3 separate regions of the Homo sapiens genome follow, and all the other regions are linked to region 3. The links are contacts of gene promoters, found by promoter capture Hi-C in human tissues and cell types (Jung and others, 2019). All regions are on one chromosome and are shown on one strand. The core of a region is centred on a gene start or on the middle of the fragment in contact, and the rest is flanking DNA. Distances in the headings are between cores, read along the strand shown. Region 1 overlaps LOC107986781 (a long non-coding RNA gene). Region 2 overlaps LOC107986781 (a long non-coding RNA gene). Region 3 holds the start of NEUROD6 (neuronal differentiation 6).

Evidence for each region. The method cuts DNA at HindIII sites, captures the fragments that hold promoters and counts their contacts. A contact is called where the count stands out against the background at its distance.
Region 1: a fragment that was not itself captured here is called in contact with the fragment with the promoter of NEUROD6 in region 3 in 4 of the 25 tissues and cell types used here (H1 embryonic stem cells, dorsolateral prefrontal cortex, liver and 1 more).
Region 2: a contact is called between a fragment that was not itself captured here and the fragment with the promoter of NEUROD6 in region 3, in 2 of the 25 tissues and cell types used here (hippocampus and mesendoderm cells).

Annotation. Positions count from the first base shown.
Region 1 is chr7:31,167,914-31,172,072 of GRCh38, forward strand. All of the region lies in intron 2 of LOC107986781 (a long non-coding RNA gene), which reads left to right. Among named protein-coding and RNA genes, the nearest start is that of ADCYAP1R1, 120 kb to the left of the region's middle. The HindIII fragment of the contact is 5,984 bases long and covers 1-4,159 here.
Region 2 is chr7:31,137,369-31,141,323 of GRCh38, forward strand. LOC107986781 (a long non-coding RNA gene) reads left to right here. Exons shown (of 3, transcript XR_001745159.1): 2 at 267-321. Among named protein-coding and RNA genes, the nearest start is that of ADCYAP1R1, 87 kb to the left of the region's middle. The HindIII fragment of the contact is 7,356 bases long and covers 1-3,955 here.
Region 3 is chr7:31,338,847-31,343,037 of GRCh38, forward strand. NEUROD6 (neuronal differentiation 6) reads right to left here and starts at 1,880. Exons shown (of 2, transcript NM_022728.4): 1 at 1,747-1,880; 2 at 1-443. The coding sequence starts at 422. The HindIII fragment of the contact is 16,561 bases long and covers 1-4,191 here.

The DNA.
Region 1 (4,159 bases), core at 258-2,757, 170 kb before region 3:
GTACTCACTAGCTAATAAGCTTTATAAGAGCAAGAAGTAATATTGAGGCTGGGTGCAGTGGCTCATGCCTGTAATCCCAGCACTTTGGGAGACTGAGGTAGGCAGATCACTTGAGGTCAGGAGTTTGAGACCAGCCTGGCCAACATGGTGAAACCCCGTCTCTACTAAAAATACAAAAATTAGCAGGACGCGGTGGTGGGTGCCTGTAATCCCACCTACTCGGGAGGCTGAGGCAGGAGAATCACTTGAACCCGGGAGGTGAAGGTTGCAGTGAGCTGAGAGTTGAGATCACACCACTGTACTCCAGCCTGGACGACAGAGTGAGACTCTGTCTAAAAAAAAATAAAAAAAGTAATATTTACTTACATAGCTGCTGTGCCTACATAAGATTTTAATGAGCACAAAATGTGACATGGAGTTGTTAAGTGGTAAATCTTTATTGAATGAATGAATTAATGATTTTAGCTGGCAGCCTCTCTTTATGCATTCTCATTTGGTCTTATTAAAAAATATATAATTCGTTTGAAATGGACAATGTACACTGTTCCCCTGCTGAATTCAAGTCATGAGTTTCATACTAGTGATTGTTTACATAATAATTTACTAAAAATAGTAAGAGTTTAGGATTTTTTTATGTGCTCTTTGAAGAAGCCAAGTGTGTTTTTTTTTATGTATTAATGTTGATTTGTCCATCCTACTCTGTTTTTACCATTTCATGCGGGCACTTTCTCTCTTGCACAGTTTAAAGCTTTCTTGCTCTCTTCAGGAGTATATTGCCAAAAATTCCTTATCAGTTCTCGTTAGACACCCTCTGCCTTATGCTGGTAGTCATCATGTTGGCATTGTAAAATGTAGCTTAAAAGTCCAATCCAGTTGTTCACTTATTCCAACCTCTTCTTTCTTCCACAGTCAGAACCTTCATGGGGGAAAAAGAGTTGAAAACACCCCCTGAATCTCATTTGCTTTCCTCTTCAGGTCCCCTGGGGCTGTACTCCAGGTTTCCCTGGCTTTGCATTTGTTCTCTATGAAATTATGTAAGCAGGAACAGCCCCAGGTGCTTGGAATGCTTGGTGGCTTCCTTCATGTGTGGGTTTACACATGGTGACAGAAGAGGGCAGCTGCTGGGGCAGCAATTTTTGTCTCTCCAGGGTCTCCACATGGACACCTTGTTTCTCCTTTGGATCTTCATTGGCCCTGCAATGAGTCAAACTTGCTAAACCCTGTGCTTCCCTCTGCCCCAGCCACAATCTCAGATGGAGCCTGACTTCAAATCTCTCACTGGTTGGTGGTTTGACCTTGAAGTTGGTAGACCTTGTCTGATCACCTGGGAAATGTAAGTTACTTCAGAGAGAGAATCAGTGAATTGTGAGTTGTGGGATCACAAGTCTAAAAAAAAAAAGCAGCTACAGGAGTTAATTATGCTAGTGTTTCTCCACCCATTTTGTTGATGAAAGAGCTTCCACATCATTGCCTGTCAGTCTAAGCATTGAGGTAAAAGACTCTCCCTTTGAAAATAGTCATTATATGAAAGTCTGGGAACCAGTATCAATATTTATTAGGGGGCACACACCCATCCTGTCCTGTTGTATCACAGATTTATAGCACAACCGTTTATCCTGGACTCCCTAAGCTCTTTCAAGGATTGTGTTAAAATTAAACCTGTCAGCTGTTCCTTGGGAGGATAACAAACTTTTAGGCATTCCTGTAGCTGACTTGCCTGCAAATGTATGGAAGTAGTTTCTTTAAAAAAATCTCTACTTAGCAAAACATTTCTTCTTTCATTTCTTTTATTTCCTCTTCCCCTGTGGTTCCTGGTGATTGATATTTGAATGTAGAGTTCCTCTGGGAAAGCCTGACTTATTCTTCTGCAACTACATAGGTTGAAAGAGGAGGAGATGTATGTTGCCCATTGTGTGAAGGGAAAAACAGAAAGATTAGCAATCTCTAGAAGCTGTACCAGGAGGCATAATAAATGTACAACTGTGAAAGAAAGAAAAAATAAGCTTTCTTTTAAAAATATTAATTTTGGAGAAAGATTACGTCAATCAGGAACATTAACAGAAGCTCAACATCCAATGCGAGGAACAAAAACTGATTTGATGATCCATGTGAACTGAAATTAGTGTCAGGGTGGATTTAGAAAGAACTAGCACGAGCCGGGCATGGTGGCTCATGCCTGTAATCCCAGCACTTTGGGAAGCCGAGACAGGCAGATCACCTGAGGTCAGGAGTTTGAGACCAGCCTGGCCAACATGGTGAAACCCTGTCTCTACTAAAAATGCAAAAATTAGCCAGGTGTGTCAGGCACCTGTAATCCCAGCTACACAGGAGGCTGAGGCAGGAGAATTGCTTGAACCCGGGAGGTAGAGGTTGCAGTGAGCCGAGATCGTGCCACTGCACTTCAGCCTGGGCAACAGAGTGAGACTTTGTCTCAAAAAGAAAGAAAGAAAGAAAGAAAGAACTATTATCGTGACTTCTTCCTGAAGGGAAATGCAAGCATTAGTCAACAGCCAAGTGTGTTGAGCTGTATACAAGTCATAATTCTCACTTTGGAATCTCCTAGAATTTTCTGGGAATAAGCATATAAGGTGTTCTTTGTTGAATGAGCTATTGAGTGAGTGAATGAATGGAGTGAACAGAAGAAGGTTGATGATACATCTCTAACCTGTCAGACTGCCCCTGGAATATTGTGCTCAACCAAAGGACCACTTAGATGGTGAACAGTCTGGGCACTATGTTCTGTGGGAATTTTGAAGAAATAGGAGAACATTGGTTTTGAGAAGGGACATTTAAGGCTATGGAGGTACCTCATGGCTACATTCAGATATTTAAAGCCTTAATAGATTAAACAAAAACTGAGCGTAAACTCAGGGTTGGGCACCATGCATGATGCTGGGGCCACGTAGAGAAGAATATGAATATGTCTCTGCCTTCTGGACACTTTTCATGCTGATTCTACTCACTTCTAAGCAGCAAATTAGGAATAATGGTGGCAGGTATAAGAGAGAAAGATTTCAGTTTAATGAAAGAGGACCTGTCCTAAATTGGAAGGGGCTGCTTAGGAGTCTTTAGCGTAGGAGAACCATGAGACTTTAGCTGCTCATGAAAGTTATCACGATAAGGGAACTTAGAGGTCACATTGCAAGTATTCAGGAAAGACTGGATGATCCCTTGTTTGGGCTGTGCTTGGACGGAATTCTCAGTTCCCTTTCTCTTCTCACGAATATGTGTTTCTGAATCATAAGGTTTGAGAAAATAAAAGAGCACAGAATAGCCAAGTAATAAAGGATTCATAGTTTGAGTCAATTAAAGCATAAATAATAATTGTTAATTTTTCGAGAGCTTACCAAGTGCTTGAGATGTTGGGCAGTATCTATCCTATGCAGTGCTACTATTTTATCTCCTTTTCACACCTGAGAAAACTGAGCTAAAGTAACTCGCCCAAAGTGACACAGCAGATACACTGCCATGTGACCGGAGGCTCATGCTCTACCCTCCAAGCTGTGCTGCCTTGCTCACCCACACTTTGCTTCATTTCTTAACTGAAACCTGCACTTGAGTGCCTTTCAGGAATGACACCTGCAAGGATTCTTGGGACTGTATTTAATTTGCTTCAACGTGCATAAGCTCATGTGAATGCATACCAAATGCGATCAAACTGTGGGAATGTGAGTCACTGTGGAAAATTGTTTAGAGCAAGAATTTTTAACGAGAGGTCTATGTCTGCATTTATGTGTATGTGCATGCATGTGCATGGATGTGGGGACTTGCACACGTGACAGTCTACGAAGAGATTCTGTATCTTTAATTAGGTTCTCAAAGGAATGACTGATAGCCTCACAACAGTGTAAGAATACTGACTTACGGTCTTCTCTAGCTTTGTGCAGCAAAGAGGGTCTGCCCATATATAAACTTTCATTCAGAATGGGAATCAGCTAGTTTAAAATGAAACGAAACAAACCAGCAGTTGAGGTTATTAAACCGATTCATTCTGATTGTAAAAGAGACATCTAGATGTAACCTTTTGGGACTCACATTACTAGGTGTTTCAGATCCTGTGTGAGGAGGCATTTAATGGATGCTTCTTTTCCCTAAAGGAAGTTTGGAAATGCAGGAAGAGCACCGGCACTCACTTGGATGGGAGAAATGAGGATTACTC
Region 2 (3,955 bases), core at 101-2,600, 200 kb before region 3:
GCTTGGGTGGCCTGCGTTTATTCCCTTACTTGGCCCCACCCACATCCTGCTGACTGGGCCATTTTACAGAGAGCTGATTGGTCCATTTTACAGGGAGCTGATTGGTCCGTTTTGACAGAGTGCTGATTGGTGCATTTACAATCCTTTAGCTAGACAGAAAAGTTCTCCAAGTCCCCACCCTACCCAAAAGCCCAGCCAGGTTCACCTCTTGCCACAGTCCTCTGTAATAAATATCTTTTTTGTTTTTTAAATCCTTATTTTTTCAGGTAAGGACACAGAAGCCCAGGGAATATAAGTAACCTCCCAAAAATCGCACAGCAGGTAAGTAATAAGGTCGAGAGTTTAATCCAGAGCTGCAAGATGGCAGAGTCCAAGTTCACAGCCATAAGCTATACTGTTATTATGCTGTTTTGCCATTATTTCCAAAGAGTAACAAAAGGAAATGATCACCCATCTTTTATATATTTCAAGGCTACTATTCATGTCTTTTATATATGTCGAGGCTACTATTTCAGTAGCCTTGAAAATAGAACATAGATTTAATGTACTTTCTTAGAAAACTTTGTTCTATGTGTATGCATTTTTTGAATAGTATAATCCAATAATAGTTGGAAAGAACTTGAAAAAAATACACTCCACATACTTATGGTCATAAAAAATAAGTATTGAATTAAAAAGTTAGGAGTAAAATAATCGAACCCAAGAAAAGCAGAAAAAATAAAAGCAGAAATGTATATGTTAGAAACTAGAAACATTTATAGAAACTAAATAAATGCATGAGTTTGTTTGAAAAATCAGAGAAATATATAAACTATTAGGTCATCTAATCGTTTTTTAAAAGGAATACCTAAAACCATGTATTAGAAATGACAATGTAGAACTAATTGCAAAACCAGAGGAAAGTAAATGAACCAGCATAACATGATTTTTGCTTAATATTTACAAATATACCTATATGAAATTGGTTGACATTATAGGAAAATATGAAGTAACAAAATGTATCTTTTTTTTTTGAAATGGAGTCTTGCTCTGTCTCTCAGGCTGGAGTGCAGTGGCGCCATCTCGGCTCACTGTAACGTCCGCCTCCCGGGTTCACGCCATTCTCCTACCTCAACCTGTATCTGGGACTACAGGCGCCCGCCACCACGCCCGGCTAATTTTTTGTATTTTTAGTAGAGACCTGGTTTCACCGTGTTAGCCAGGATGGTCTCGATCTCCTGACCTCGTGATCTGCCCGCCTCGGCCTCCCAAAGTGCTGAGATTACAGACGTGAGCACCGCGCTTGGCCTTTTTTTTTTTTTTTTTTTGAGACAGAGTCTTGATCTGTCGCCCAGGCTGGAGTGCAGTGGTGTGATCTCGGCTCACTGCAGGCTCCGCCTCCCGGGTTCAAGCAATTCTCCTGTCTCAGCCTCCCGAGTAGCTAGCACTAACAGGCACTGGCCACCACGCCCAGCTAATCTTTGTCTTTTTAGTAGAGACGGGTTTCGCCTTGTTGGTCAGGCTGGTCTCGAACTTCTGACCTCAGGTGATCCACCCGCCTCAGTCTCCGAAAATGCTGGGATTACAGGCGTGAGCCACCGCACCCGGCCCAAAATGTATCTTAAAAGAGTTAAAACATATATAGGCCAAAGACAGTAGAAGAAATAGAGAAATTTGCCAAAGAGTTACTGCTAGCCTCCACAAAATGCACCAGGCCCAGATGATTTCATGAAACTATATGACCATAACTTTGCTGAACATGGAACTTTAATGCACTTTAAATATCTGCAGAATAGAATGGAAAAAAAGAAAAATCCTTCACATTCATCTGATGATGTGAAAAACATGCTAATATCAAGCCTGTCAAAGAGGAAATAGAAAATGATAGATAAATCTTTATTTTGAATATTGATGTAAAAATTGTGAAAAGAATTCAGTAGCAGATCGATGCAAATAATATTCCATGAATTGTGTTTATTCTGATAATGTTAGAATTGTTCAGTATTAGGAAATGTGATGGTTAATTGTGTGTATCAACTTGGCTGGGCTCAGTTTCTAGATAGTTGGTTAAACATTATTCTGTGTATTTCTATGAGAATGTTTTTGGATGAGATTAACATTTATTTTATTTTATTTTTTTCTTTAAAAATTTTTTATTTTTAATTGTGAGTATGCAGTAGGAGTACATATTTCTGGGGTACATAAGATATTTTGATACAGGCATGCAATGTGTAATAATTACATTAGGGTAAATGGGGTATCTATCCCCTCATGCATTTATCCTTTGCAATACAAAAAGTCCAATTATACTCTTAGTTATCTTAAAATGTATCATTAAATTATTATTGACTATAGTCACTCTATTGTGCTATCAAATACTAGGTCTTATTCATTCTTTCTACTTTTTTGCACCCACTAACCATCCCCACATTCCCCTCCCCCTCCTGCCCACCCCTCAGTCCAATTAGCCTTCCCAGCCTCTGGTAACCTTCCTTCTACTCTCTAGCTCCATGAGTTTCATTGTTTTATTTTTTAGCTCTCACAAATAATTGAGAACATGTGAAATTTGTCTTTCTGTGCCTGGCTTATTTCACTTAACATAATGATCTCCATTTCCATCCATATTGTTGCAAATGACAGGCTCTTATTCTTTTTCTATGGCTGAATAGTCCACAATTGTGTATATGTACCACATTTTCTTTATCTGTTTGTGTGCTGGTGGAACTTGGGTTGCTTCCAAATCTTGGCTATTGTGAATAGTGCTGCTGTAAACATAAGAGTGCAGATATCTCTTTGATATACTGATTTCCTTTTTTGGGGGTATATACCAAGTAGTGGATCATATGGTAGCTCTAGTTTTAGTTTTTTGAGGAATCTCCAAACTGCTCTCCATAGTGGTGGTCTTAATTTACATTCCCACCAACAGCGTACGAGGTTTTCTCCACATCCTCGCCAGCATTTGTATTGCCTGTCTTTGGATAAAAGCCATTTTAACTGAAGTGAGATGATACGTCATTGTAGTTTTCATTTGCATTTCTCTGATGATCAGTGATGTTGAACACGTTTTTATATGCCTGTTGCCCATTTGTATGTCTTCTCTGAGAAATGTCTACTCAAATATTTTGCCCATCTTTTAATTGGCTTATTAGATTTTTTTCCTATAGAGTTGTCTGAGCTCCTTTTATATTTTGGTTATTAATCTCTTGTCAGATGGGTAGTTTGCAAATATTTTAGCCCATTCTGTGTGTTGTCTATTCTCTTTATTGATTGTTTTCTTTGCTGTGCAGAGGGATTTTTTTTTTAACTTGATGAGTTCCCATTTGTCCATTTTTTTCTTTGGTAGCCTATGCTTGTCTGGTATTACTCAAGAAATCTTTGTCTACTCCAATGTCCTGGAAAGTTTCCCTCATGTTTTGTTGTAGTAGTTTCATAGTTTCAGGTTTTAGATTTAAGTCTTTAATCAACTTTGATTTGATTTTTGTATGTGGTGAGAGTTAGGGGTCTAGTCTGATTCTTCTGCATATGGATAGCCAGTTTTCCTAGCACCATTTATTGAAGAGACTGTCTTTACCCCAGTGTATGTTCTTTTTAAAAATGAGTTTGCCGTAGGTGTGTGGATTTGTTTCTGGGTTCTTTATTCTGTTCCATTGGTCTATGTGTCTGTTTTTATGCCAGTACCATGCTGTTTTGGTTACTAAAGCTCTGTAGTATAACTTGAAGTCAGGTACTGTGATTCCTTCAGTTTTGTTCTTTTTTCTCCAGACAGCTTTGGCTATTCTGGGTCTTTTGCAGTTCTATATAAAATTTTTAAGATTTTTTTTCTATTTCTGTGAAGAATATCATTGGTATTTTGATAGGGATTGCACTAAATTTGTAAATTGCTTTGGGTAGTATGGACATTATAACAATATTCATTCTTCCAATCCATGAACATAGAATATATTTCCATTATTTTCGTGTCCTCTTCAATTTCTTT
Region 3 (4,191 bases), core at 630-3,129:
TTTTTGGCCAGTCGTAAAGTCTCTATTTTGGACAGTTTCTGGGTTTTAGAATAACAGGGGACCACTTTTCTTAAGTTGTCCAGAGCGTCGTTGAGGCCGTGCATCCTGTTCCTCTCGCGCGCGTTCGCTTCCTGTCTCCTGAACTTGACCCTTTCCAATCGCAGCTTTGTTGTCTTTTTTTTCCTAAGACCCCTCCTTCTAGGCAACCCATTTTCATCTTCCTCTTCCCTGTCTTCCTCCTCTTCTTCTTTCTCGGTTTCTTCTCCAGGGGCCCTTTTGATGCTCTTTCCTCGAAGGACAATCTGTTTGGAAAAGCTTTCTGGCTTCTTAATTTGCTTCTGGTCCTCGCATTCTCTAGAAAACTTTCTGCACATCTGGGATTCTGGCATTACAACAGACTCATCAAACGGTAGTGTTAACATGGTTCTCTAATCTTAAATTACCTGAAAAAATGCCAGCACAATATTTAAAGAGTTTTCATTTTTAAAGTTTATACACTTAAAACATATTTAATTATTTAATCATAAGATTACAAAAACACGTGAAAAAGACTGATTCTGGGCCTGATTTTTTAACATTAAATATAATTTTGAGTTTGTGAAGATAAGTAATTATGAAGACATTGATGCATTCAATAGGATTATTTATATGAGCAAATTATCAAAAGAAAATAAAAATGAAACATATAATTATTGTGATATCATTACCATCTACATTTCTCTTTGCCTTTAAACTGGATTTTAATACCCCCAAAAAAGATTGTGGAATTCAAGCAAATGCAAAACATGAAATTGCAATGCAGAATTTCATTAATTCCAATTCCCCTGAGCACAAAATGAGAAGATAAACCAGTTTTTAAAATGGACTATCTCTCCATTAGCTGACAAATTTGTGTTCTTTTTTTAAAACAAACAAACAAACAAACAAAACCTTAACTTTATTTGCTGTATCACACAACTGTGAATTTAGATAAGTGGGTGTGGGAATATACAAATTTAAAGAAAAGATTATAATCAGAGTCAATTTTTCAACTGATTTTTTCTGATCAGTAAAGAATTATGTAAAAGGGCACTATTTTCCCAGGCTTCAAAAAGAAAAGGGGATTAGGCTAATTTGGAATAAACTCTATAAATAAATTTAAAACATAAAAATCACTAGCAATTTCTTTTAATTAAAAAAAATAGAGACTGATTTTATTTACATTTAAATTTTTTCCAAATAGAATTGTCTGTTTACTGCTGTTCAAATCATCCTGGACAAAAACCACTCTCGTAGTGTTTTTGTTCTACGAGCCATAGAAGTCTCCCTCTAGCTAATATCTGACAGGAACGGTCCAAGGATTCTGACTGCAATTGTGCACGTGTGTTCAGAATCCCAAATGAAAGGGGAAAATAATTTGTGTTTCAAATGCATTTTGGTTTTTGTCTGGTGAAGCAGCAAGTATTTTCATCTAAAGTCTTCAAACAAATAGGCACATTAAAGCAGAGACTTTTCAATTTAACAATCTCCAGCCCCCTCAACACACACATATACACACGAACACATACACAAACTCTTAGTAATGTCCACATACTTGCAGTGTTACATAATAGCAGTGAAAGTATGTGATAATTACATCATAAGAATGAAATATGATAAGTTATAGATGGCAAAGAGCATATAAATACTATAAGACAGTGACACTGTATCTTTAAATACTTGCATGCAAAGCCAGCATCAATTGAAGTATATCTTTATTTATATTACCTTAGGTTTTAATTTCATTCAATAATCAGTTTTCATTTTGGGTCTTCCAAATCTTTTCAGGCTGAGTGTCGCATCGTCTCCTGGAGTCTCTAGATCTGTGTATATCTGCACTATCTCATTGATCTCTAAAAAGTGACATTGATGCCAACTGCCAGAGCTGGTACCCATGCCATCTGCTAGTGACGTCACAGGGCAGAGAGAGCCATGTGATCCTCTCTCTTGGGACCTTCATTCTGCACTGATCATCTGGCATCCCTGTAAGTGGGTACCAGCCTTCATGCATCAACACAGAAGGTTAGACTGATAGGAAAAAAATCTGCACCAGCATTTCACGTACAGTAGGTGCATTTCTCCTCGAACTGCTTCGGTTTCACTGGCAATCTGTAGAAATAGCTGTGTTAGTGTTCAGTTTCGCCCTGCCAAAGGTGCAAGTATTAGGTGATCGTTAATATTCCATTCATTTACAAGGTGGGCTTTTGTGTGAGCAAGAGGTTTTTTTTGTTGTTGATGATGTTGTTTTGTAAAGATCACCATCCCATTTGTGCACCTGGGTACCCAGGGAAAGAAAGCCGTGAAAAGGAGCTGGAAACTGGTCTTAAGACGTTTAACCAAACTAAGATTTGTGTAAGTGAACAGGGGTCAAAAAAGGTCTCCTTTGCTTGTTTTGTTTCACAGCGTGTAACTTATGAGTGTGTGTCTCTGTGTTCTCTTATTAACATGTAAGACTTCTGTGCTTCTTAGGCATTTGGAATAAAAGAACAGCTTCTCCATCTGGGGTCTGTGAAAGACATCCTCAAATACTCCCCTTCCTACACTTGCTGGTATCTTTCACCAACTTTTGCAGAGACACTGCAAGTCCGTTGTTAAGGATTTCAAACTACATACTTTGTCCTCTGCAGAAAGTCACTAACTTCACTCTTTTATTGTCCCTTATCTCTTCCCAGCGTTAACTTGCTTGTTCCCTCTCATTTCATTTCAGACACAATAAACATAAAAATTATCACTTAGGTGTTTGTCTTCCTCTCCCTGACATTCTGCTGAGTATTTTAATCAAAGATTAGCTTTCCTGTTTTTGTTTTTTTTTCTTTTTTTTTGACTTTCAGATTTTTTTCTTTCTCTTAAAAATCTTGTCCTCACATTTTTCTCTAGACCAACATCAATTTAAATATCTTCTTGTTCTTGTATCAGTGTCCAGTTGTTTTTCCCTGTCAGGTGTATTTCAGATTTATCTTTTTTCCCCGCTCCACACTTTTGGTTTCTTCTTAACAAAAGCAGGGTGGAAACAGTTAAGCAAAGCTGGCAAAGCCTTATAGATAATACGAACTGTGGAGGCAGAGACAAACTCCACCTTCCTCCTGTTTTCTCTTCTCCCGTGCCCCCACCCCTATAAAGGACATTTGATTTCAGGATTGCCTGCCAGTAAAGTAAAAAGTGCACTTAAAAAAAATAAGTAAAAGTTTTAAAATAAACAAATAAACGCAACCTTTGTTGTTTGGCAACTGAGTAATCTCTTTCTATAAAGTGAGAGAGTATGCTTTTGGTATTAAAGTAATCCCTGCAGAGCTGTAACTGTTGAATCTGTGTTAGCATTCCCCTTATAAATCCCAGTTTTGCAAGGTTTAGAATTCTGCTGCTTTAATGCACTTTGGATCCAAATTGGCACCAAGGGCCTCACACTAAATTCAATTTTGCTTCTGTCATACCCCACTCATTTCCACCTTCTTCAAAAAGTTGCTTGACTTTTCCTGGACAGTTCTAGAAATGTTGGGGAAGCTGGCAAAAAGGAGAATCAAATATGTAAAAGCAGATAATTTTTCTCTCTTAATGGCCCAGTAAAAAATGCAAATTTAAAATAAGAGTCAGGCTATAAACTCCTAAGTTAAAATAGGTAGGTTGGCCTAGCTTCTGTTTTTTAAAAAGCCAGATATACCATAGCCATTGTAAAATTTGTTGTTTAAGAATATATTACTTGGTAATGGGTGCATTGAGTATATTTCAGATGGCTTTTAATTCAAGAAGTACACACAGTTTTTATATTAGCATAGAGAATTTCTATAGGAAGGCCAGTTGCAGAATTTTGTTGGTCTCCCATATGATTTAATTTTTAAATGTAAAGGAGCGTAAGTATCAGAGTCATGAGCCACAAAGCAGCCAGTGCTGTCTTGAATTTTGTATATTGCACCATATTCTAAACTTGCAAAGTCTCCAAAAGCTGCATTGTATTAAAGGCATCACAAACATGAAAATCAAAATCCAAGGAATAGATGACATGATATGCCAGTAGAAAATTACCATGGATGTACTTCATTGAAAGGGTAGATTTTATATTTTATCTTGGCATTTGCAGAAAAATGAGAAGCAATTTATCGATAAAAACATTTGAGGCTGTGCTATTCCTGCCTTTGAACACGAAAGAAAAACCTTTGGTGCTGACGGGGTGGAGGA